Linked DNA regions of Homo sapiens: region 2 is linked to region 1. The links are contacts of gene promoters, found by promoter capture Hi-C in human tissues and cell types (Jung and others, 2019). All regions are on one chromosome and are shown on one strand. The core of a region is centred on a gene start or on the middle of the fragment in contact, and the rest is flanking DNA. Distances in the headings are between cores, read along the strand shown.

Evidence for each region. Contacts are between HindIII fragments. The study calls those that stand out against the background at their distance.
Region 2: a contact is called between the fragment with the promoter of KRT16 here and the fragment with the promoter of KRTAP17-1 in region 1, in 2 of the 25 tissues and cell types used here (mesenchymal stem cells and mesendoderm cells).

What each region holds. Positions count from the first base shown.
Region 1 is chr17:41,314,318-41,317,017 of GRCh38, reverse strand. KRTAP17-1 (keratin associated protein 17-1) reads left to right here and starts at 1,308. Exons shown (of 1, transcript NM_031964.2): 1 at 1,308-2,106. The coding sequence starts at 1,368. The coding sequence ends at 1,685. The HindIII fragment of the contact is 6,672 bases long and covers 1-2,700 here.
Region 2 is chr17:41,611,517-41,614,216 of GRCh38, reverse strand. KRT16 (keratin 16) reads left to right here and starts at 1,450. Exons shown (of 8, transcript NM_005557.4): 1 at 1,450-2,059; 2 at 2,496-2,578. The coding sequence starts at 1,529. RefSeq lists an enhancer at 1-419. The HindIII fragment of the contact is 12,932 bases long and covers 1-2,700 here.

The DNA of each region.
Region 1 (2,700 bases), core at 59-2,558:
ACCCTCCCGACTCCCACCCTGTCCTTAGTTCTTCTAGCCCTTCTTAGAGGCTGTCTTACTTCTAGCCCATCTTACAAAGAAAGGGAAATGAAAAGGGAAGGACTAGATCCCTTGATCCAGATCCTTACTCCCATCCCTCCTTCCATTCCCACCCCACCCCTATCTTCTGTCCTCTACCCCTACTAGATGTTGTATTCCAGCTCCAGGGCTGCCATGGGCACTCCAAGAGGAGAACAAGGTACCAAAGTCCAAGAAAGAGACAGAAATTTTGACCCATCTCAAAATTTACACATGGACCTGAACCATCTGTAGATTTTAGACTCCTTGCAAAGGCATTTTATTCCTTGGGATGACACTCTGGGTATTTTGTATTCTAATTTCTCCTTCTGCCAGATGGTCTATAAGGTTCGAACTCTTAAAAAAAGTGCGTTACATTCCCATTTTAATGTAGCATTTTGGATATTTACTGATCTCCTTCCTGCTTTCTTCTTTCTTTTCTTCTTTCCTTTCTTCCTCCCCTTCTCCTCTTCTTCCTCCTCCTGCATCTCTTCCTTCCCCGGTCAAGGAAAGGCCTGGGGCTGGAGTGGGGGTGGGTAGAGGGTTCTGATCTCAGTTCTTCCCACCTATTTAGAGAGAAGTGCGAATATTCAGCTCACCTTGCCGCCGAGACAGACCATGCCTTACCAGCTTCTTGCAGCTTTACGATGAGTCTCTCTCGGTTTCACAGGGCAGTTATTACTCATGACTGATGCTCACCGGCCAAGCCTAAACGTGTGGCACACTCCCCATACCACACACAGACACAAACATTTGCCTGGCTCACATGAACCGGGATGAGGATGCCATTTCCACCTGGGAGGAGCCACGTGACCAGGCGTTCTCAGTAGCCTCCACTGGTGTCAGGGGGAACAGAGCATTCGGCTGTTGCCGGTCTGCCTTTCCAGGACTAGCATCCATGGAAGATGGGGTCCATCGCCAACCTGCGAAGATGTGGAAGGCAAGCCCCTCATTCCAGAGCCAGAAGCTGTGGCCGGCTTCCCCTTCCCATCTCCAACCTGGGCTAATGACAGCTGGCAGATGCTTGGCCATGATGACAGGTCTTTTCGAAGATGTATTTTTACCCTCTGGATAAACAGCAGTTGGCAGGAGTGGGGCGTTTTTATGAGTTGAGGTACTCAGGACTGGAAAATAAACAGCCAGTTAATGAGCCGGTCTTATGGAAACTTGCATAAATAATAACAAAGAAAACATCCCGTCCCTCATGCCTGGGTGAGGGGATATAAAAGCTGCCATCCAGATGGCTGGCCACCGTCAGTCGTGGGGAACTCCGGCTGCGTTACCGACCTGCGAGCTGACGGGCCCGGACCATGGGGTGCTGCCCGGGGGACTGCTTCACCTGCTGCACCCAGGAGCAAAACTGCTGTGAAGAGTGCTGCTGTCAGCCGGGCTGCTGTGGCTGCTGCGGCTCCTGCTGTGGCTGTGGGGGCTCTGGCTGCGGGGGCTCTGGCTGCGGGGGCAGCTGCTGCGGATCGTCTTGCTGTGGATCTGGCTGCGGAGGCTGTGGAGGCTGCGGAGGCTGCGGGGGTGGCTGCTGTGGATCCAGTTGCTGTGGGTCCAGTTGCTGCGGCTCCGGGTGCTGTGGGCCTGTGTGCTGCCAGCCCACACCTATATGCGACACAAAATGAAGACCTTTCCCTCCACCACTGATGCAGTCCCACCGAAAGCCTCCATCTGCTCCAGGGGGACAGCCCCTCGTGTCCAGAACCTTCCATACCCCCAAGACAGTGTCTTGTCTTTCTGTGATTTGTAGAGGAGGGCTTGTTCTCCAACACCTTCTCTGGTATTTCAAGGCACCGAGAACAAGAGCCATACTCTGATGAAACATTAAAACTCGGTCACAACTAAGTGATCCCAAGCTCAAGGGTGAATCCCCAATACTTTACTTATTCACATGAAGTTCAATGTCTTGTACTATAAGACATCCTCTTCTTCAAGGTGTCTTTGGGACTGATCCTCCGCCCTGGCTTTCTGCAGCTTTGAGATGCAAAAAAGGTCCATCTTCTTTGTGAGCCTCTTAATAAATTTGAGCATGCTGGCATAACCTAATTAGTTCTCTTGCCTCTTCCTTGACCTCCCTGCTGAGGACTGGGTTAGAAAAATTCACTCTGGCATCTGCCTTAGGGTTTTTGAATTGTGGTTTTTGGATCACCTGCGTCGGAATCACCTGGGAGCTTGTTAAAACTGGAGACTCTGAGGCCCTCCCTAAGACATACAGAATCAGAATCCACCAAAGTGTGGCCTGGGAATCTGTGTTTTTAACAAGAACCTTAGATAATTCTTATGCACTGAAGTTTGAGAACCATAGATCTAGACGGAAGCTTCCGTGTGCTGCATGAGATTCACTTGAAAAGCTTTTAAAAATATAGATCATTGGGTTTTATCACTGGAGATTTTACCCGTTAGCTCTAGGGCCTAGAGTCCCTAGGGACCTGCATTTTTAAAAGCTCCTGGGTGAATGCTGATGCTGGCCACATTTAATGGTGATTGAGGGGCATGGCTTTCTTCTGCACTACAGCTCTCCTAGGATGGTTCTGCAGGAGGGCTTCAGGCTTGATCAGAACTTTCTGGCAAAGTCGGAAAGGAGGCTTTGGTAAAACAAGATTGGTTCTGAATGGAAAGGATTTCTAATGGCAAAGCTAG
Region 2 (2,700 bases), core at 201-2,700, 300 kb before region 1:
GGGGAGGTGGGTGAGAGTTGGGTATACTGGCCCCGCCTGCAGGCATGGTGGGAGCCTGGAGAGGGCCAGAGTTCTGGGTTCTAGTTGCAGCTCTGCAGCTTAAAGCAGAGTGACTTTGAGTGAATCTCTACGCTCACAGAACTGTATGGCACACACTGGGCTCTCCATGCATGCCTGAGTGGGCCCATAACCAGTGCTCTCCCCCAGCTCAGCTGGATGAATGGAGCTGCCAGGCCTAGCCTGGGATCTGTGGACACAGGAGAGAGAACTGCTGGGAACGGATCCCCGGCTAGTCCTGTTTCTACAGGGTAGGGGGGGACTCTGAGGCCCAGGTGGGGTCAGGGGTCATACCTGGCTGTAGTGGCAGGATGGGGCTCCCTCCCACCAGCCTGCAGGTGGGGTGCCTGTGATTAGGAGAGGGCGGTAGAGGAGTGGCAGAGCTAGGTGTGGGGCTGTGGTGTTCTTCAGCTGGGAGTGTGGGGGGCGCAGGGCCCTGCTTAGGGGTGCGGGATGGTGCCAGTGTGTAGAGGTGAGTGTGAGGAGCAGGTGGCTGGAGGGGCAGGATGGGGAGGCTGAGGGGCAGGGCTGGCCCTCGGGGAAGGGCCGGTGGGGTCCTTCGCGCATGTTTCTTTGTGGCTAGTGGTGTGTCATCCCCTTTTACAGATGAGAAAACTGAGGACCAAGGGGCTATAGGACCAGCCTGTGCTGTACAGTTGGTAAGGGCAGAGCAGGGACTCAGTGCCGCCTGTCTAGCTCCATGGCCAGTGCTGTTTGTATGGTGCACACACTTCTGGAGATCCCGGGGGCTCAAGGCAGCCTCTGGAACTGGAATTAGATCCAAGAGGGGAAAGAGAGTTATAGGATTTTTAGAACAGAAGGGACTCTGCAGTCACCCAGTCCAGCCTGGTCACTGAGGGGAAACAGGCCCAGAGGTGGGAGGTGGGGAGCCTCAGGCCACACAGCAAGCAGAGTGAAGACAGGAACTCTGCCCCTGCCCAGAGTGGGACATGTGGGATCCCCACAACTGCTCCCCAAGACAGCCCAGGATGGCATCACTGAGCTCTCTTTCAGCCAAGGCTGTCACTGTGGGGCAGGGAGTTCTTCTGAAGGGCTGACTCACTGCCTGGGGACGCAGTTGCCACAAAGCCACCTGTGCCAAGGCCCGACTGGCCCCGAGGGCTCCAGGAAAGGGAGCCTGATTCCCCACCGCCTAGCCTGAGTCACCACCGAACTCGCATTTCTGTGTTTTTCTCTCGGCCCCACACCCCCAAAGCTGGGTGGGAACTCTGAGCCGGCACACAGCAGAGTTGATCCTGGGCTGAATAATCCAGAGTGAGGAGTTGGACGGGACCGGGAGTGATGAAATCCAGAGGGGAACCTGGAGTCAGCAGTTAGGAGGGCCCCGCCTTCCCCAGCTGCATATAAAGGTCTCTGGGGTTGGAGGCAGCCACAGCACGCTCTCAGCCTTCCTGAGCACCTTTCCTTCTTTCAGCCAACTGCTCACTCGCTCACCTCCCTCCTTGGCACCATGACCACCTGCAGCCGCCAGTTCACCTCCTCCAGCTCCATGAAGGGCTCCTGCGGCATCGGAGGCGGCATCGGGGGCGGCTCCAGCCGCATCTCCTCCGTCCTGGCCGGAGGGTCCTGCCGTGCCCCCAGCACCTACGGGGGCGGCCTGTCTGTCTCCTCTCGCTTCTCCTCTGGGGGAGCCTGCGGGCTGGGGGGCGGCTATGGCGGTGGCTTCAGCAGCAGCAGCAGCTTTGGTAGTGGCTTCGGGGGAGGATATGGTGGTGGCCTTGGTGCTGGCTTCGGTGGTGGCTTGGGTGCTGGCTTTGGTGGTGGTTTTGCTGGTGGTGATGGGCTTCTGGTGGGCAGTGAGAAGGTGACCATGCAGAACCTCAATGACCGCCTGGCCTCCTACCTGGACAAGGTGCGTGCTCTGGAGGAGGCCAACGCCGACCTGGAAGTGAAGATCCGTGACTGGTACCAGAGGCAGCGGCCCAGTGAGATCAAAGACTACAGTCCCTACTTCAAGACCATCGAGGACCTGAGGAACAAGGTGGGTGACTTTGGTGTATGGAGCACTGAGAGAGGCTGGGGCTACAGTGGCCCTTGGGATACCTCTTTTTAGCAATTACACTTTACAAACAGGGAGACTGGGCACCTTTGGGGAGTGGCCAGGATCACCCAGGGAAGTGGTAGCAGAGGGTCCCTTTTCAGTATCTCTGTGCCCGGACTGGGGCTGTTACCCTAAATCTCTTATTTCCTTCAAGGGTTCAGCTGCAAGTTCAGCTTCCCTGCCTTGGGCCCAGGAAGGGGGTGATCGGGATGGAGTGCATCCCTACGTAGCCTGAGCTGGTGGAGAAGGCATGCCAGCCCTGCCAGCCAGAAGACTTCCAGATTTGGGGCGGTTCCTTTTGCCCCTTTCTGCCTTTCATGCTCAAGTAGTAAGGTCCTTGGCTGACCAGGGCTCCTGTCCTCCATCCCCACTCCAGATCATTGCGGCCACCATTGAGAATGCGCAGCCCATTTTGCAGATTGACAATGCCAGGCTGGCAGCCGATGACTTCAGGACCAAGTGAGCAGCCAGCATGGTGGGCTGGGGGCAGAGGGCAAGGGACAAAGAGTGGGGCGGTCCACCCAGCAGGGCCAGCAGACCCCGAGCCTCAGAATCCTCAGGGCTGCAGCCTGAGGACCTGA